7 separate regions of the Homo sapiens genome follow, and regions 1, 2, 4, 5, 6 and 7 are each linked to region 3. The links are contacts of gene promoters, found by promoter capture Hi-C in blood cells and fetal thymus (Javierre and others, 2016). All regions are on one chromosome and are shown on one strand. The core of a region is centred on a gene start or on the middle of the fragment in contact, and the rest is flanking DNA. Distances in the headings are between cores, read along the strand shown. Region 1 has its middle 3.4 kb from the start of C6orf62. Region 2 has its middle 3.3 kb from the start of TRV-AAC1-5. Region 3 holds the start of H1-2 (H1.2 linker histone, cluster member). Region 4 has its middle 3.2 kb from the start of LINC02828. Region 5 holds the start of TRD-GTC2-6 (tRNA-Asp (anticodon GTC) 2-6). Region 6 has its middle 15 kb from the start of TRQ-CTG6-1. Region 7 holds the start of TRT-AGT6-1 (tRNA-Thr (anticodon AGT) 6-1).

The links. Contacts are between HindIII fragments. The CHiCAGO score rates a contact against its expected background, and 5 or more counts as called.
Region 1: a fragment that was not itself captured here is called in contact with the fragment with the promoter of H1-2 in region 3 in 1 of 17 cell types (M0 macrophages); the score reaches 6.0 in M0 macrophages.
Region 2: a contact is called between a fragment that was not itself captured here and the fragment with the promoter of H1-2 in region 3, in 1 of 17 cell types (monocytes). The highest score is 7.2, in monocytes.
Region 4: a fragment that was not itself captured here is called in contact with the fragment with the promoter of H1-2 in region 3 in 1 of 17 cell types (M1 macrophages); the score reaches 5.1 in M1 macrophages.
Region 5: a fragment that was not itself captured here is called in contact with the fragment with the promoter of H1-2 in region 3 in 1 of 17 cell types (naive CD8 T cells); the score reaches 6.1 in naive CD8 T cells.
Region 6: a fragment that was not itself captured here is called in contact with the fragment with the promoter of H1-2 in region 3 in 1 of 17 cell types (M2 macrophages); the score reaches 7.0 in M2 macrophages.
Region 7: a fragment that was not itself captured here is called in contact with the fragment with the promoter of H1-2 in region 3 in 1 of 17 cell types (total B cells); the score reaches 5.2 in total B cells.

Annotation. Positions count from the first base shown.
Region 1 is chr6:24,721,178-24,723,955 of GRCh38, forward strand. No RefSeq gene overlaps it. Among named protein-coding and RNA genes, the nearest start is that of C6orf62, 3.4 kb to the left of the region's middle. RefSeq lists enhancers at 1-500, 246-1,039, 631-680, 731-820. The HindIII fragment of the contact is 1,539 bases long and covers 482-2,020 here.
Region 2 is chr6:27,755,426-27,758,125 of GRCh38, forward strand. No RefSeq gene overlaps it. Among named protein-coding and RNA genes, the nearest start is that of TRV-AAC1-5, 3.3 kb to the left of the region's middle. The HindIII fragment of the contact is 200 bases long and covers 1,346-1,545 here.
Region 3 is chr6:26,055,145-26,057,844 of GRCh38, forward strand. H1-2 (H1.2 linker histone, cluster member) reads right to left here and starts at 1,326. Exons shown (of 1, transcript NM_005319.4): 1 at 596-1,326. The coding sequence starts at 1,284. The coding sequence ends at 643. RefSeq lists enhancers at 1-428, 839-888, 979-1,378 and a silencer at 279-348. The HindIII fragment of the contact is 9,556 bases long and covers 1-2,700 here.
Region 4 is chr6:24,737,760-24,740,536 of GRCh38, forward strand. No RefSeq gene overlaps it. Among named protein-coding and RNA genes, the nearest start is that of LINC02828, 3.2 kb to the right of the region's middle. The HindIII fragment of the contact is 163 bases long and covers 1,391-1,553 here.
Region 5 is chr6:27,479,650-27,482,349 of GRCh38, forward strand. TRD-GTC2-6 (tRNA-Asp (anticodon GTC) 2-6) reads left to right here and starts at 25; the gene lies at 25-96. RefSeq lists a silencer at 78-137. The HindIII fragment of the contact is 3,440 bases long and covers 1-2,700 here.
Region 6 is chr6:27,775,111-27,777,869 of GRCh38, forward strand. No RefSeq gene overlaps it. Among named protein-coding and RNA genes, the nearest start is that of TRQ-CTG6-1, 15 kb to the right of the region's middle. The HindIII fragment of the contact is 595 bases long and covers 1,000-1,594 here.
Region 7 is chr6:27,160,864-27,163,563 of GRCh38, forward strand. It overlaps TRT-AGT6-1 (tRNA-Thr (anticodon AGT) 6-1), which reads left to right and starts at 1,408; the gene lies at 1,408-1,481. The HindIII fragment of the contact is 2,646 bases long and covers 83-2,700 here.

The DNA.
Region 1 (2,778 bases), core at 1-2,500, 1.3 Mb before region 3:
GGGGCTCCCCGCCACTCCTTCCGCCCCCCTTCTTCAGGAAGTCCCAGTCTCCTGAGTTGGCTCTTCGCCCCGCCCCGATGTCGTCATAAAAGCACGCCCTCAACCATCCTCAACAAAACACCCGGATGGAGTCGCACTTCCCGAGTCTCGTCAGCCTCTCAGAGTCAGGCTGGGCGCGTGACAGAGCCGAACTAGCGACCTGGGCGGGCCAAAACTGCGGAAGTCGGCGGAGAGTGGGCGAGGGTAGGGGCGGAGCAAAGAAGGAAAAGGAAAGTGTGTGTTGGAGATTGGAAGATTCTTATTTCGATTCTTATAATTAGTTAGTCCTGGGGGTCGGCCCCGCGGTATCCTGCGGCAACAAACCTAGAACTCAATTCGACACCTGGAATTTAAACGGCGTGCGGGAGCAGATGTCTCATGTTAGTGCTACTTGCCTCTGTCCCCACCCCGCCACGTGCGCAGGCAGGGAGGGCGGTCCTCAAGCTTCGAACAAGGTCAAAGACGTTGTTCAGACGTTGCTGCTGTGGCTTAGGAGAGGAGCAGCCCAGTCTGACTCGTGGATTTTTACCCACTGCTGTCAGAACACACTTTCTGTTAGAATCCCCCAAGACCTCAGACCTACAGCCTGCCCCTTAGGTGGTTCACTGTCTTCATCGAAACGTTTGCCGCCGAGTCGCACGTCCTTGGCACCAAAAAGCGTTGAGTCCATTTTTCAAAGCTCTAATGTGCTCTTTAAAACACAGTTATGTAAGTACTTAGCAAAGGTCAATACTCCACATAAGCAATGCTTATATACTCATTGGCTACTCTGAGATTTTAGAAGTCCATTGGGACCCCAATTACTACTTTTCACTTCGTGAAGTCAAAACAGATCAGCTGTAATAACATTATTTCAGCCATGAGCCAAAAGAATAACTGGTACCCACCCTTCAATATAAATTGTCCAGAACCAAAGGATGAGTCCTGAGATTTCCAAATAACTTCTAATCTCGGAAGATACAGCTTGCATTTTGCTAGTGCTTTGCTGATTTGTTTTCAAAATCATGTAACTATGGAAAGCTCACAGAGATAAAACAGAAAATGTCACGTAGTTTAGAGCATTGGTTTAAAAAAGAAAGATTTTTAAAAGTAAGCCGAGCATGGTGGCTCACGCCTGTAATGCCAGCACTTTGGGAGACCGAGGCAGGCGGATCACCTAAGGTCAGGAGTTCGAGACCAGCCTGGCCAACATGGTGAAACCTCGTCTCTACTGAAAATACTAAAATCAGCCTGGCTTGGTGGCAGGCGCCTGCAGTCCCAGCTACTCGAGAGGCTGAGGCAGGAGAATCGCTTGAACCCGGGAGGCGGAGATTGCAGTGAGCCGAGATCGCACCATTGCACTCCAGCCTGGGCAACAGAGTGAGACTCCGTCGGAAAAAAAAAAAAAAACAAACAAACATATGAGACATACAAGCCAGTATGATCTTCAGGTGATCCGCCTGCCTCAACCTCCCAAAGTGTTGGGATTACAGGCATGAGCCACCATTCCCAGCCGGCTTATATGTTCTTGACCTGGCCTTGACTTGTATCCATGATCAACTTCATGGAAGAATTTTTAAAATAACAGCTTTATTGAAATATAATTCACATACCGTATTTATCTACTTGAAGTGTACAATCCAATGGTTTTTAATATATTCAGTGTTGTGCAGCCATTACATTACCCCAAAAAGAAACCCTGTACCTATTAGCAGTCACTTCTCTTCTTTCTAGTTTATGTTCTGTCTATAGATTTGCCGTTTCTGAAATTTCATATAAATGAAATCATTTAATATGTGGTCTTTTGTGACTGGCTTCTTCACTTAGCATAATGTTTTCAAGGTTCATCCATGTTGTAGCATGTATCAGTACTTAATTCCTTTTTATTGTGGAATAATATGTATTGTATGAAATTCTATATTCATTCATCAGTTGATGGACATTTGAGTTGTCTCTGCCTTTTGGCTGTTATAAATAATGCTGCTATGAACATTTACTTAAAAGCTTTTGTATAGACGTATGTTTTTAATTCTCTTGGGCATATACTTAAGAGTGGAATTACTGGGATATATGTTAACTCTATCTTTAACCATGTGAGAAACTGCCAGATGTTTTCCAAGTCTGTTGCATCATTTTACATTTCCTCCAGCAGTGTATTCCAATTTCTCCACATTCTTGTTATTATGTCTTTTTTAGTATAACCATCCTAGTGGGTATGATGTATGTCATGGTGGTTTTGATTTTCCTTTCCCCAACGATTAATGATGTTGAGCATCTTTTCATGTGCTTATTGGCTGTTCTAATATCTTCTTTGGAGAAATGTCTATTCAGAACTTTTGCCCATTTTTATTTATCTACTTGTTTATTTATTTATTTTTTGAGACAGAGTCTCGCTATGTTGCCCAGGCTGAAGTGCAGTGGCATTATCTCAGCTCACTGCAACCTCCGCTTCCTGGGTTCAAGCAGTTCTTCTGCCTCAGCCCCGAGTAGCTGGGCCCACAGGCCCCCACCACCATGCCCGGATGATTTTTGTATTTTTAGTAGAGACGGAGTTTCACCATGTTGGCCAGGCTCGTCTCAGACTCCTGACCTCAAGTGATCCACCCACCTCGGCCTCCCAAAGTGTTGGGATTACAGGTGTGAGCCACCAAGCTCGGCCTTTTACCCATTTTTAATTTAAAAAATTGTTTTTTTAATTATTAAGGTGTAGAAGTTTTTTATTCTAGATACAAGTTCCCTGTCAAATATATACTTTACAAA
Region 2 (2,700 bases), core at 196-2,695, 1.7 Mb after region 3:
CAGCAACAATGATCATTAAAAATATTGTTAAAGAAAAAAAGAAAGAAAAAAGATAAAAAATATTGTTAAACTGGACATAGTGGTGTACCTGTAGTTCTAGTTACTCTGGAGACGAAGTAAATCAGGAAGATCACTTGAGCCCAGGAGTTTGAGGTTGCATGTGCAATGATTGTGTCTGTGAAAAGCCACTGCCCTCCAGCCTGGGCAATATAGGGAGACTCCATCTCTAATTTAAAAAAAATTGTTGTAAACACATTTATTTCATATTAATTAAAATAAATTATTGGCTGGGCACAGTGGCTCATGCCTGTAATTCTAGCACTTTGGGAGGCTTAGGCGGGATGATCACTTGAGCCATGAGTTCGAGACAGCCTGGGCAACATTGCGAGATCCCCATTTCAAATTTTTTTAAAAAGAAAAATAAATTATTGAGCTACAAACAATGTGCCAGACAATTGTGACCCTATGTTGTCACTAGGAGTACCAGAGGCATGCAGGACAAGATTACACAATCCTAACTCTCAAGGAGAAGAAAGAGGAACATGAGCAGCCAATATGCCATAAGCAAAAAGTGGAGCAACAGACGTACAGATTGCGAAGCATTTGGATGGTAGTATAGAGAGGAGGCATCTTCTTAGTCCTTATGAACTGGCAGGGCAGATCTGGCAGGGATCTTTGGAGCCAAAATATCTGAGTACAATTCCTTCCTCTGCCACTTTCTCATCATATGTAGGGTTTCAGGCAAGCTATTTGGCTTCTTCATGACTCTGTCTGTGCTGGTAAAATGGATATGGATACAGTGTGTACCTCATAGAATTATCATAAACTCAATTAAGAAAAACTCCCTGAAGTGTTTCAGACAGTGCTCAACTTACAGAAGTAGTTACTGCTTTTATTTTTAGTATTACTTTTAGCCTTGTCAAGCCTCCTGAGTCAAGATCTATCCCTGTCATTTCGGGTTTACATTTGAGCAAGTTAAGGCTTGAACAATGTGCTGAGGTTATGCTAGCTAGGAAAGGACACCACCAGGTGTGTTTGTCTCCAGAACTGGTGTTCTTGACCACCATGCTATACTAGGTAGTTTTATAAACCCCTGTTTATGACAAAAAAAGATTATAGAGAATATTATGGACCTCCTTATTTCCATGATCCTACTTCAACAATTAGTCTCTCCTCCCTCTGCCAAGCCCCCATGATAATTTAAAGCAAATTTAGACATTTTCATCTAGCAACAGCTTTTTGTGGCATTTTCATAGCATATGCTTCCATTTAACTTTGTAGTTAATGAGGAAATTTGTTGAGCTGTTCTCCCCTGGGCGGGAGAGATGCCATGCAGGGAGTCCTAAGCTTCCCATTGTCCCTCAGATCAGTAAAGAAGACCAGCCCTAAGCTGCTGACCACAGGTTCATGGGACTCTTCTGAGGGAATGTGAGGCCCAGAACTTACGCTAGTGATTCTCCAGGTGGACTATTCCTAAGATTCCTTGCCATACCCCCTTCTAGTGCAGAGGGTCTCTGGTATGGCCCACAAGTCTTAATTTTTAGAAGCTTCCAGGTGATTCAGAAGCTGAGGACCTTTGGGAAGATTTTGACAATCCTTTCATTAATGACAAATTTGTTTCATCTTAAAAAACAAAACTTCATCCTTGTATGTGTGGAGGAGGACACTATAGTGAAATTAAAGAAAAAAAAAGTCAAATTATCTGCTCCCTCCATCTACCTGAGGTTTTCTTGCTTGGCATTTGCAAAGAAATTGGGCGCATGGGTGAATACTTTGATTGCTATAAAGAGTAGAGTTTGGCCGTTGATTTTAGTACACTAAAAGTGCAAGGGCAAGAAACATACCAGCACCTTGACAGTTTCTGGGAAGAAACTTAACGGCACCTTCTGGACCCAATCTGCGTGGCGCAGTGGCCTAAAGAGGCGACCGAACCTGCATCCCTAGCTCCGCCTTCCCGGTCCCTGCACACCCCGGCAGCTTCCGCGCGATTCTTCCCGCCCCCGACACCCGCCGCCACACAAAGGCGCTGCGTCCTGGCGGCCAGCGGGGGCTTAGTCTAGGCCCGGCAGGGTTTTCTGGAAGACCAGAGGGCCACCAGGTCACCGAGGTGGGAAGTGAAGAGAGGTTCGACGCTGCCTCAGGCCTGGGCCTGGCCGGTGGGAGACACAGCAAGGACTCTGGGAGCCTGCAGAGCAGAGGCCGCCGCGGGGCCGGGCCCCCGTCTCCTCCTCAGGTCCAAGACCAGAGGGTCTGCAGGGCCCCAGAGCAGCTGGCCGCGCTCCGCTTCCCACCGCGCTCTCTGCTGGAACTCATGTGGTTGTTTATCCTTATTTTGCTAAATTTCTTTATTTGCTGTAACAGTTTGTGTGTGTGTGTGTTTGAGTGTGTGTGTGTAATTTTCAGGGTTTTCTATATATAAAAATCATGTCACGGCCAGGCTTGGTGGCTCACACCTGTAATCCCAGCACTTTGGGAGGCCAAGGTAGGAGGATCGCCTGAGCCCAGGAGTTCGAGACCAGCCTGGGCAACACGGGCAACATAGCGAGACCCTAGTCTCTAAAATTTTTTTTATTAGCCGGGCATGGTGGCAGGCGCCTGTGGTCCCAGTTACTCCGGAGGATGAGGCAGGGTAATCGCTTGAACCAGGGAAGTCGAGGCTTCAGTGAGGCATAATTGCTCTGCTGCATCCCAGCCTGGGTG
Region 3 (2,700 bases), core at 76-2,575:
ATTAACAGCAGAGGAATGTAGGACAAAGGTACCTGCACGCACTCTCCTCCCAGGGCTGGATGTTGCCACTACCTCCAGGAGACATCAACTTGACTACCAACAACATGGAAAGCGTCCGAAATCCCAGACATTAATATAAAGAGAAAAGAGGCAAAACTTTTAAGTCACAGTAAAGCAAAAAACACAGAATAAGCAACGTCTTCCACCATCCAATTAAATACAGAATGAAAGTCATGTACTAGAAGAACGGACCAACCCGGGAGCAGGGCGGGACTTTTGAAAATTTTTTAGTCCAATCCGGACATCCCTTTAGACTAAGAAACTGGCTCTTGTTTTGCGGTCTTTTCTGCCGTTCACAGGCCTGGGGCGGGACTGCCATCCCAAAACCATCCGCCAGCGAGAAAAGCCTCCGGTCAGGGACCTAGAAGCCGCAATAAAGGTTTAAATGCTGTAACCTCACCACGGCCACTCTCCAACCCCGTCACCCAATTCGTCTGATACCTCAGTAACTCCCATACGACTAACCTTAAGTAACAGGGCAGAACAAGAAAAGGCAGATAGTAAAGAAATTATCCAGCTCTTTTATTGAGATCAGTGGTGGCTCTGAAAAGAGCCTTTTGGGTTTTAGAAGTAGGCGTTCGCCTATTTCTTCTTGGGCGCCGCCTTCTTAGGCTTGACAACCTTGGGCTTAGCGGCCTTGGGCTTCACAGCCTTAGCAGCACTTTTGGCAGCTTTCTTGGGCTTCGCAACCTTGGCCTTCTTTGGGCTCTTAGCCACTTTCTTGGTTACAGTGGCCGCGGCCGGCTTCTTCGCTTTCTTCGGTGTTTTCTTAGCGCTCTTCTTCGGAGTTGCGCCGCCAGCCGCCTTCTTGGGCTTCTTGGCTGCCCCAACTGGCTTCTTAGGTTTGGTTCCGCCCGCCTTTTTAACCTTGGGCTTGGCTTCCCCGGAGGCTGCCTTCTTGTTGAGTTTAAAGGAGCCAGAAGCACCGGTGCCTTTCGTTTGCACCAGAGTGCCCTTGCTCACCAGGCTCTTGAGACCAAGTTTGATACGGCTGTTGTTTTTCTCCACATCATAGCCGGCGGCAGCCAACGCTTTTTTCAGAGCAGCCAGAGAAACTCCGCTACGCTCTTTAGAGGCGGCCACAGCCTTGGTGATGAGCTCTGACACCGGGGGACCAGACGCCTTACGAGGCGTACCCCCAGCCTTTTTGGCCGCCTTCTTCTTTACAGGGGCCTTCTCCGCAGGAGGCGCGGCAGCGGGAGCGGCAGGAGCAGTCTCGGACATGTTGAGAATCAAAAACTCGGGTACAAGTGGCAAAGCGCCGATGAAGCAGCGCCTGGGCAGGGCCGCTGTATATATAGAGCGCAGGCGCGCTCTGATTGGTGCTCTGGTCGCCCGCCTGGCTGGCAGGCTCTGAGCCGCTGCGCTGCTCCCAAGTTGTGTTTGTTCCACCTCACAAAAGGGGAAAAATATTAAAATTCCCCGCACCAAATCACTTGGGTTTGGTCAGGAAAGGATCTCAGAAGCCTCGGGCTTCATGCTCTTCATTTATTTTTTCCACAAACACAAAAACAACGCGTCCAGGCGTCCCCAATTCCCCCAACTCCGAAGGAAGTCTGGGGCAGTCAGAGACCACTTTCTGTTTTTCTTATAAATTACCTGTTCGCTCCTTTGCCCCTGAAGGTTCTTTTTCCCAGGGGTGGTTGGGCACATGCTTCCCTTATTTTTGAAGAAAAAAGCGAAATGGTTTCCACCTAAATTTTCATGATAATTCTGTTTCTTCACAAGGGAAGTAACACAGGTCCTCTGTGAATTCTTCGTGCAGTCGCACAGGAACTGTGGACTGGGACAAGGATTCCACGGCCAGTCCAAAGCAATTAGGGCGGGATGGGAGGGGGTTCATGAGCCTTGCTAGGGTCCGGGGTGGTGGGGGGCTACAGACTTAAATCTTTGATTTGAAGACATTGAAACTATCAAATCCCTCTTTTCATAGATGGGGGTGGGGCATCCTTTTCACTTCTCTACAGGCGAGAAATTGGGCTCTTTTTAAAGAGCTCTGAGGTCCCCCTCTGAGTTGTGTAAGGCAGGAGGTCTGGCCCTCAAGATAGAGATCATAAAGGAACAAGGGAGAGCCCTTAAGCCTGCAAAAAAGCCAATAGATTTGGCAGTTAGAGGCACTGAGATAATATGTTTTCAAAGAAAACAAGCATTTTTTATTTATTTATTTTTGTACGCTGCAATATAGAAATGAATTTCAGCCCATGAAAATTGTAGGTTACTTTCAGTAACCATACCTTACGCAAGTTACCATATAGGACAATCTCCAGTTGGGAACTCAAATATATCTTTTGAGTTGCAAATAAAGCAACTGACTTTAATAAAACACACTCTTGACTTTTAAGATGAACAATGTATTTGAAATTTATTTTTTTAAATAGCAAAATTTAACACAGAAAGACAAGAAAAGTACCAGAACATGTAATTTATTATAAGATCTGTTGTTGATGAGCTGAAAAATCACCTCTTCTCATCCCCTCTGAAACTATTCTGTTCTAAAGTTTGCTACTTTAAGGTTCACTACTTCTTATTTTACTCTCCGACCCCAAGTAATTGCTATTTTTTTCTTGAGATTAAAGGCAAAGTAAATTGTCTGCCCATATATTTGATATAATTATAGATTCATATTTAGGGACAAAGGTA
Region 4 (2,777 bases), core at 222-2,721, 1.3 Mb before region 3:
GAAATCAGTGCCACCAGAGAATAGAAAAATGTTTGAAGAAAAAAGGCAATGAATGACGAAGTGTGTATTTCTTCAAAGTACTAAGGTTAACAAATGTCAAGCACAATTCTATAACTGGCTAAACTTTTATTCAGGATGGAAAGAGTAAAATAAAGCATTTTTATATATTAAAAAAAAAAAAAAAAGAGGCCGGGCGCGGTGGCTCATGCCTGTCATCCTAGCACTTTCGGAGGCCAAGGCGGGTGAATCACCTGAGGTCGGGAGTTCGAGACCAGCCTGACCAACATGGAGAAACTCTACCTCTACTAAAAATACAAAATTAGCTGGGTGTGGTGGCCCATGCCTGTAATCCCAGCTACTCGGAAGGCTGAGGCAGGAGAATCGCTTGAATCCAGGAGACGGAGGTTGCGGTGAGCCGAGATTGTGCCATTGCACTCTAGCCTGGGCAACAAGAGCGAAACTCCATCTCAAAAAAAAAAAAAAAAAAAAGAATATTTAAAGCATCATTATTCATAGTAGCTCCAAATAAAACATAACCTAACCTAAATGTCCATCAACAGTAGAATGGATAAATAAATTGTGATATAATATAGGCATACAAAGAAATGTTTTACAATAATAAATGATAGCTACATGCAACAACATGGATGAATCCCACAAACATTACATTGAGCGAAAGTAGCCAGACACAAAATAATGCTAACTATATAAGTTTGTATAATACAAACTATATAACCATATAAGACTATATTTATATAGGTTGAAGAAAAACAAATCTAATCTATAGTAGCAGAAGTCAAGATAGTGATTACCCTTGGGAGGAAAAAGAAAATAGTGCCCTAGTTATCTACTGGTAAGTAAAAAACCACTCTGAACTTAGCAACTTCGAACAACCACCACAATGTGCTTTGCCAACAAGTCTGCAATTTCGGCAGGGCTTGGAGGGGACAGCTCATCTCTGCCTCAACAGCATAAGCTTGGACAGTTCAAAGGCTGGGGGCAGTGAGGGCGGGTGTTGTTGGGGACTTGAGACTTGGAGGTGAAATCACTGGGAGTCTTACCCACTTACATGTCTGGCAGTTAATGCCGACTGTTTGCTGGGACCTCAGGGACTGTTGGCCAGAATACCTACACTTGTCCTCTCATGTAGCTGCATGGTTTTTCTTTATCATGGTGGCTGGATTCCAAGAGCAAACATCCCAAGAAACAGGAAGAGAAAGCTGCCAGTTTCTTAAGGCCTGGCCTGAAAACTGGCACAGTATCACTTCTGCAGTACTCTATGGGTTAAGCTGTCAATCTTGATTCAAGGGCAGGAGATAGAGACATTATTTCTCGATGTGAGGAATGGTGTCAAAGTAGTATTTGGGGACTATATTTTATAATCGCTGTAAGCTTTAATTAGGAGCACATGAGAGGAGAGGGTGCTTCTGGGGTTCTGGTTTCTTGAGCTAGGTGGTGATTATACAGGTATCTTCACTCTCTAATGATTCCTTCATCTGTACATATGGTTTGTGCACCTTCCTGAGCATATGTTTCAACTCCAATAAAAGAAAAGCTTAAAAAGGATGCAAACATTCTTTATGTCCAGATATAGAACAATCCCTAAGACATAGTAACATGCTATCATGGTTAAGTACTGAGCTCTGAGGGCTTGCCTGCTGGGTTCAAATCTAGTTCTGCCAATCCTAGGCTTTGTGTCTCAGTTTTCTCATTTGTAAAATGGGGATTATAATAGCTCTTACTCCAGGAGGTTATCTCAAGGATTAAATGAGTTAAAACATGCAAAGCATTCAGAATACTAATAGAAAAATAGAAAGTGCTTGAGAACTGCTTGCTATTTTTGTTATATTAAATGAAAATTGCAATTTGTATAGGTAAAGCAGTGTCTACAGTATGATGCCTTATATGGTTTGGCTGTGTCCCCACCCAAATCTCATCTCAAATTGTAGCTCCCATAATCCCCTTGTGTCATGGGAGGGACCCGGTGGGCAGTAATTGAATCATGGGGGTGGGTTTTTTCCATGTTGTTCTCATGATAGTGAATAAATCTCACAAGATCTGATGGTTTTATAAAGGGCAGTTCCCCTGCATACCTGCCCTTGCCTGCCACCATTTAAGATGTACCTTTGCTCCTCCTTCACCTTCTGCCATGATTGTGAGGCCTCCCCAGCCATATGGAACTGTGTGTCCATTAAACCTCTTTTTCTTTATAAATTACCCAATTGTGAATATTTCATCATAACAGTATGAGAACAGGCTAATACACTGCCATTTGTGGGAAAATGAGTAGACGTACCCATGGGTACAAACTAGCTATAAGATCAGGATATACAATAAACTAATAACGTTGGTTGCCTGTGGGAGGGAGATTTTTCACAGTGTAGACTTTGGTACCTTTTGAATTTTCAACTATATGAAGGCTGCATCTGGGAAATGGGTCTGGGTAGGGAAGAGGACTGTTGCTTTTTTATTGAGTGAAAGTAGCCAGACACAAAAATTTAGTGTTATATTTTCTACAATGTACATGATAAACATACTAAAAGAAAAGACAAGATGGGTCAGATTACAGAGGGCCTTATAAAAGACCAGGCATGGAAATTTAGAGTTGATTAAGGCCTGAAAATGGCACTGGCAATGGTGATAAAAGGATGAATTTAAACACTTAATAGAAAAAATCTAGAAAGTAAAATATCTGGATAGAAAATGATAGAGGTAAGTGAAGAGGACACCCAAGTTTTGGTGCGAGTAACTGTTACGGACTGAATTGTGCCTCCCCA
Region 5 (2,700 bases), core at 70-2,569, 1.4 Mb after region 3:
TAAGAGCTCCATTTTCACGTCAATTCCTCGTTAGTATAGTGGTGAGTATCCCCGCCTGTCACGCGGGAGACCGGGGTTCGATTCCCCGACGGGGAGGAGGCTTAAACTTTTTTTTAGAAAAGCACACTTCCGGTAAACACAGTCTCTAGTCTTCTGGGCAAATGTTGGGTTCTCTTTTTCTTTAGCAGAGTTCTTTCAAACCAACGAAATACTGATCGCAAAAACCATAAGCTGTAGAAATCATGAGGTTCTGTAATAGCAAGAAAATTTCCACTCTGCACTGTAATCTCCATCACAGTGGAGAAACCGGGTAGATACCATCTTACCCAAGTGATTGAATCAGTATTGGGACGAATCTACATTATATACCTTTTTTACAGGATGTGCTCATGAGAGCACAACGTCACTTTTGTGGTATTCTTGGCAAAAATATGTAATCTAAATCAGAAAACATCAGACAAACCCATATTGAGGGAGATTTTAACAAAATAACTGACTTGTACGCCTCAAAAACTGCAATTACTTTTGCATCAACCTAGTAACAGGCAAGCAGGGAGGAAAAATAAATAAATAAATAAATAAATAAATAAACAAATAAATAAAATAACAAAGTTACAGAACACAAAGAAAGGCTGACTAAATAGTCCACATTATAGAAGATCTTAAAGATATGACAGCAACATATGGTCTGGAATTTTTATCTTAAAGGACATTATTGAAATAGTTGGTGAAATCTCAATAAAGTCTATAGATTTTATAATATTATGAATGTGAATTCCTGATTGTATTAATTGTTCTATGGTTATAGAACAAAATGTCTTTAAGAAAATTCACACCTATTTACAAAATACGTATTTAAGGGTAAGGGGAGGTATGTGTCTTCAAACTCACTGTCAAATAGTTCAGAAATATACATTTATGTATATATATGAGAGAGAGAAGGAAAAGAAAATATAGGAATATCCTTAATGTGCTAATATTGAGGGAATTGGGGTGAAGGGTGCTCAGGAATTATCTGTATTATTCATGTACTGTGTCTGTCAGTCTAAAATAATTTCAGAATGGAAAGTTAAAAGGAGAAAAGCCTAATAAAACTATAAATGAAAATATACGAATTAAAATGTAAAAGGGCAAATATACAATTTTGAACAATGCATATGACAAGAGTGACGACTACATTAATGAATAGGAATTTAGAACTGATGAAGGAGTGGGATTCAAAATGTTATAAGTGAGCAAGAAAATTCATAACATGTGACAAAAGCTACATAAAGAGTGAATGCCTGAAACAACATTGTTTCGTAATGATTACATGTTGGAATATGAAAACAAATGGTACTAAATTTCAAAACAGCAACGACAATATAAAATGGAAAGGTATGGCGAAATCCAAATCATTCTAAGCTCCTTTATAATAAGGTAGGAATTAGAAGTGTACCTAGTATATACCCTCGACCAACGCTGAATGGATGAATATTAAAAGCAATATTTTTGTGAGCCATAATCAAAGCCAACAGCATTGCTTCTTTAATGAAAGAATACTCTTCCAGCATATAACAATATGTCTGATTTTGTTTTAAAAATACTTATTGGCCAGGCGAGGTGGCTCATGCCTCTAATCCAAGCACTTTGGGAGGCTGAGGCGGGTGGATCACCTGAGGTCTGGAGTTCGATACCAGCCTGGCCAACCTGCTGAAACCCCATCTCTACTAAAAATACAAAAATTAGCTGGGTGTGGTGGCGGGCACCTGTAATCCCAGCTACTCGGAGGCTGAGGCAGGAGAATCACTTGAACCCGGGAGGCGGAGGTTGCAGTGAACCAAGATTGCAGCATTGCACTCCAGCCTGGGCGACAGAGCAAGACTCTGTCTCCAAAAAAAAAAAAAAGAAAAATAATTATTATTAACATTTTTGTCATGAAATTTTGGCCATCAAATTTAAAAGTTAATATTATTGTGCAACACTTTCAGCCAATGGATTCTTTTTTTCGTTAACACTATTGAACAGTAGAGTGATTGATGCCTCATCCTTTTCACCTAACATTGAATCTCGTTTGTCTCTATTACTTCCTTTTAATCTATTATTTCTTTTTTAATCTAGAAGAAAAATGATTCATCGTGGATAAGAACTATAAAGCAATTGTTTTGTTTGTTTGTTTGTTTCTGGCTTTTTTTTTTTTTTGAGACAGAGTCTCGCTCTATCGCCCAAGCTGCTGTGCAATGGCGCAATCTTGGCTCACCACAACCTCTGCCTCCTGAGTTCGAGCCATTCTCCTGGCTCAGCCTCCCGAGTAGCTGGGATTGCAGGCGTGTATTTTGAGTAGAGACAGGGTTTCACCACGTTGGCCAGGCTGGTCTTGAACTCCTGACCTCGTGATCTACCTGCCTCAGCCTCCCAAAATGCTGGGATTACAGGTGTGAGCCACCAAGCCCGACTTAAAGCAACTGTTTGAAGGCACTGATAAGCTGTCAACCCAGGCAAGGCTTGACAAACTACAATCCTTGAGAGAAGGGAAGCACATTATATGAGTTTGCACATTTGAAAGTGCTTTCCTCCTGAAGGTGTGTCCCGTATTGCACCATTGTGGAATAGACCTCATGTGGAAAGAGGCAGTTGTGCTGGACTAAGGAGATACTGGTCAGAGTTTGGGGCTACCAACGTGCATAGAACTTGATGGTCAAAATTCAAGTGATGAGGGAA
Region 6 (2,759 bases), core at 47-2,546, 1.7 Mb after region 3:
GGCAGAGGTCCCTGCGGCCTTCTGCAGTGTTTGTGTCCCTGGGTACTTGAGATTAGGGAGTGGTGATGACGCTTAACGAGCATGCTGCCTTCAAGCATCTGTTTAACAAAGCACATCTTGCACCGCCCTTAATCCATTTAACCCTGAGTTTGACACAGCACATGTTTCAGAGAGCACGGGGTTGGGAGTAAGTTCATAGATTAACAGAATCTCAAGGCAGAAGAATTTGTCTTAGTACAGAACAAAATGGAGTCTCCTATGTCTACTTCTTTCTACACAGACACAGTAACAATCTGATCTCTCTTGCTTTTCCCCACAGAGAAGGCCCATGCAACACAGACCTAAACCCCTTTGAGAGGAAAATAGGGCATTTGGTGGAGGGGAGGGGAGGAGTCCTGGCTTGCGGCTATAAAAATGTTTTTCCACTCAGATTATTTTCTGAAAGAGGCTGAGATCAGGCACCTGAGTCACTGAAGGGTTCATGCTAGTGGAGTGAGAGGGCCAGGGGAACAAGGAAGGTGATAAATCTCATCTCTATTTGATAGGAATGCTGGGTAGTCATAGGAGAAACATCAAGCAGTAATTTCACATAACAGCAAAAAAGGAGCTGTTAAAATTAGCTACAAGGACAAGAAAGAACTTGGGCTGATAAGACCCTAACAAACAGGATGGTGGCTAAGCTGTCTGAAACCGTCTGGGTCCAACATGGCGCTGGATTTGACCCATGCCCTACCCAAGACCTAATTATATGCTAATTACCATACGAAATTACACACCCACCAGCGCCCTGACAGATCGAGTACGCCCATATTTAATATAAAAATGGGTGGCATCTCAATTTTATGAAACCTTCGCCTTTCCCCCAGAAAACCTCATGATTAGTCCACCCTCTAATTACAAGAGCCCATAAAAATAGAAAACTCAAACTCTGTTGGGCACGACTCATTCTCATGAGCTCACCCACACTTCCCTAAGTGTGTACTTTTGCTTAGCAATAAAAGCTTCTTGCCTTTGGCTTCATTCTGACTCCTCCCTGAATTCTTTCTTACGAAGGTGTCAAGAACCTGGAAACTGGCTGGGGCTGGGGCTGGGGTCTCACTGGCTTCTGGAAACCCTTCTGAGCCCTCTGGCAACACCTGTAGTGTAAGCAGCAATTCAGTGCTGTGATGCCTCGGTCCCAGACCTTTTTGGCACCAGGGACTGGTTTCATGGAAGACAGTTTTTCCATGGACAGGGGTTGGGGGAGAGGGGAATGGTTTCAGGATGATTCAAATGCATTACATTTATTGTGCACTTTATTTCTATTATTACATTGTGATATATAATAATTATACAACTCACCATAATGTAGAATCAGACGGAGCCCTGAGCTTGTTTTCCTACAACTAGATGGTCCCATCAGGAGGTTATGGGAAACAGTGACAGATCATCAGGCATTAGATTCTCATAAAGAGTGGGCAACATAGATCCCTCAAATGGGCAGTTTACAATTGGGTTAGAACTCCTATAAGAATCTAATGCCTCAGATGATCTGACAGGAGGTGGAGTTCAGGCGGTAATGAGAGTGATGGGGAGCAGCTATAAATACAGATGAAGCTTCACTGGCTCTCCTGCTGCTCACCTTCTGCTGTGTGGTCCGGTTTCTAACAGGCTGCCACTACCACTGACCAGTACCGGGTCAGTGGCCCAGGGGTTGGGGCTCCCTGCTGTGATAGTTAATACCCATGGCTCCAAATCTAGTGGCCCCACGTCAGGTCCTGGTGGGACCTGGTTCAGTTTTGCTTAGGACTCATCTTGTCCACATGAACCATTCCAGCCTGCTTTCTCATGCTCTTATTCTGGGATATCTTCCTAACCCCAGTATATCTGCCTCAGTGTCTCACCCTGTCTTTTTAGAAAAGGAAAAAAAAAAAAAAAGAAAGAAAACGTAAATGAAATTGGTGGAGAGTAATGGCCACCAATCCTATGCCTGACCTGGAACTGGAAACACAAGGCTTTCCTGAAGACAGAGAAACTCTGAGAAAACGGGAAAAGCAAGTTGGTGAAAAGAGCAAAATAAAAGTTTCAGAAGGGACTTTCTTGACATAGCACAGGATGAAGGAGTATCAAAGGTCTCTGTTTGGGCCCTTGGCTGGGAAAGCCCACATTCGCTGAAAGTGAAAGCTGTCCGCAGACATAACACCAAAGGGTTAGGGTAGGAAGCCCCTTTTTATGAATTCAACGGCAGGGATAGGGGTGGGGATAAGGTGGGGCTGCGTGGGTACACCAGGCGCCCGGAAAGCTGCAAAAGGCGTTAGGTCAATATGCAAAAATACTTCTAGGTCAATACGCAAAAATACTTCTAGTGTTGGGAAAGAAATTTTATTGGGGACAGGAAACAAGCGAACTGGCTAATATACTTTCTCTCTAAGGAGAGTAGTCTGACTTAATGCCTTCCTCGATTCTCTCTAAGGGCTTCTGAGGGCTTTGCTTGACTTTTCTCCTGTTTCTGCTCCTGAGCCCAAAGCAGCTCTTAAAGAAAGAAATGTCAGGTTTTGAAGCATGTTTGGTAGATTTGGAAAGGGCAACTCGCAACTTGAAGGGGATTGTTGGAATCAACTGGTTCTAGAGTGAGCTGATCTTAAGAGGCCAAGAGGAAAAAAGAAAAACCGGGAAAGAAACAGTGAAAGAAAAACAGAAAGAGGCAAAACAGTGTAACAACAACAACAACAACAACAACAAAATGGCTGATCACCTGCATGATAAATAAGAAGAGTAGA
Region 7 (2,700 bases), core at 156-2,655, 1.1 Mb after region 3:
GCTTTTCTTCCAGGGTTTTACACATACCAAGATTTATGAAACACCTGTCAGTGAGAAACAGAAGTCGGGGAATACATAACTAAGCTTCACAAAAAACCTCAGCCAATAAAGCTGAAAAATTGGTATAACCTGGCTTTGTGATTAGCTAGGTAGTGAGTAGAGGTTCATGACCCACAGGAAATAAATCAGAAGCAACACCAGGCTTGGTTAAAAAATAAAAACTCAACCTCAACCTAAGTAATTTCTCATCTTTCCAGGGTCTTGCATTTTGTGGATGCTTAATGAATGCATATGCAAAGCACCAGGCAGTTATTTAAATATTTCAGGATATTGGTTTCATCTGCTTTTCCCCATGCTAAGCTGCATTCAGCTAAACATTCCATGACTCCTTCTGCATTCATTAAACTGACAAAGAACCTGAGATAAAAGGTCATGCAACTCTGTGAGGCCCAAGTGAGAGGTTCCCACAGCATCCTGTGAGGGCTATCACATTGTACTCTACTTTGTTCTCTACTTCTCTGTATCATCCACGCAGTTTTACAATCTATGTGGGTCTAGAAATTGAGTCTATTTTAACCCAGCAGGCAAATGAGCAGAACAAGACTATGACAGAAGCAAAGATATCCATCCAGGAGAACTCCCTGTGTACACCTAACTCATTGTTTCTAACAGCAGATCTCCTGTTGAGACCAAAGCTGTCTTTGAAACAGAGGGTCTCAAGGTGCCTAGTTTGGGTAAGTGGGAAGCAGGGTGACCACAGATCTCCACGACATCACTGTGTCCTCGTCTAGGCTCACTTTCTTGTGCCAGATTAGATAAAATAGAAGGAAGCATAATGGTTTTACTCAATTGCAGTGAATTAGCTCAGAAGGTAGTGTCGTGGGTTCTATAACCCAGCGGTAAAGAGATTGGTTTCCATATCACTTGTGTTTTTGTTTGTTGTTGGATTTTTTTAGTTGGTTAGTTTGTTTTGGGGTGTTTTTTGTTGTTGTTTTATCTCCCTGTAGAACATAAATTCAATAATGGAAGAAAATTTTGCTGTTTTATTCAATGTTCTTTCTCCAATACCTAGAAAAGTACCTGAAATGCAGTAATGACTCAACATTTGTGGACAGAATGAATGCACGAACAGAGAAATAAATTTAAAATATGTTGCGATATCCAATATTTCCTGTAGGGGGAGATAGTCACCATGAAATAGAAATTTCACTCATTTCAATTTGAAATAAATTCTGAAATCTTGCATTGAAGAAAAGTATTTTTTTTAGTGTTGGAATTGCTGCTTTGTTGCTGGTTCAGAAACACAGATGTGCTTTCTTTGTCACAAAATTAAGTACACTTTTGTCAAATTGATACATTTTACAAAAATGTTATAAATACGATATATCTGAACATATGCCCAACAGGGGCCCTGTGGCTTAGCTGGTCAAAGCGCCTGTCTAGTAAACAGGAGATCCTGGGTTCGAATCCCAGCGGGGCCTTACGTGTTCAATTTTATATTTTCAATAGTATGTTGCAAATACATATGTTGAAAATGCATTAAGGAATTTATAGGTTGTGAAATCCGTATTGAGCGATTAGCACAATTATGGAGAGTCCCTTGCAGGTAACTGCATCACAATATGAAAGGGTTGGGATGAAGGGAAAAATTAATAAAGTTTCTGTTGGTAAAAAGCAATGGGTTTGCTGATGACAGGTAAGACTGGGGATATACAAGTTGTACAAAAAAAAAATCTTGTAATACATAGTAGAGAGTAACATTTCAAATTCTGTTGTAGACGTTCAGTCTCCAGCCTCTTAACCTTGATAGCCATCATTTTCAGCTACATGATAGATTTTGATTATCAGTGTCAGGCAAATAATTAATAAGTCATGGCATTTTGTTTGGAGTCTGATTCACTTTGATTTTTGAAAACAAGAGAGCAACAGTGCAATTTATATTCTCACCATTTCTGTTTTGTATGACCCTAAGAATTGTCTTATTTGTGCATCTAGGATCTAGGGACTCAATGATATCTCGAGGAAATAAATCACAAATGAATGAAGACTTTCCTGAATCTTAAGTGGCATTGCAGTTCATAAACTAAAGTGTACCCTCTACAGCACTGGCCTACTCATTAGGCTTCTCAGTTTTATCTAAAGAGATTTCAAATGTTATTATCAGAGTTCTACCAGAGTCATAGTCTTTTCACTGCTGTAAAAGTAGTCCTGCACTGTGCCTGAAATCATTTATACTTCAGAGTAAATCTGAATTCTGCTTTCTCATTTTATTCATAGCAGTTCTCTCCCACCTACTTTCAAAGGAATGTGAGCAAAAGAGATTGTCACAAGCCTCAGCTTCACTTCTAAGAAAACTGATATTTAAAGGATCCTGAAAATTGGAATGCTGCTATTGAAAAATTTGTAAACAATTGATTAAGCTATGTCTTCAAAGTTTAAGTATAAAAATACAAACTTGAATACTACAGTATTCTCTCCTTCTTGCAAACTAAATTCAAAGAAGGCTGAAAATATCTTAAGATTTATATATTACATGTCATAGTGTTATTCTTGCTCTACGCTTACTAAAAGCTCAGAGAGGAACAAATATGTTCTCAGGTACATTTCAGTTAAGTGGCCCTAAACAACCTGTGTCTGAAATATTAAGTGGAACACACAAATCACATACCAAACTCTCACTACCTGACACCTGTCAGTTAC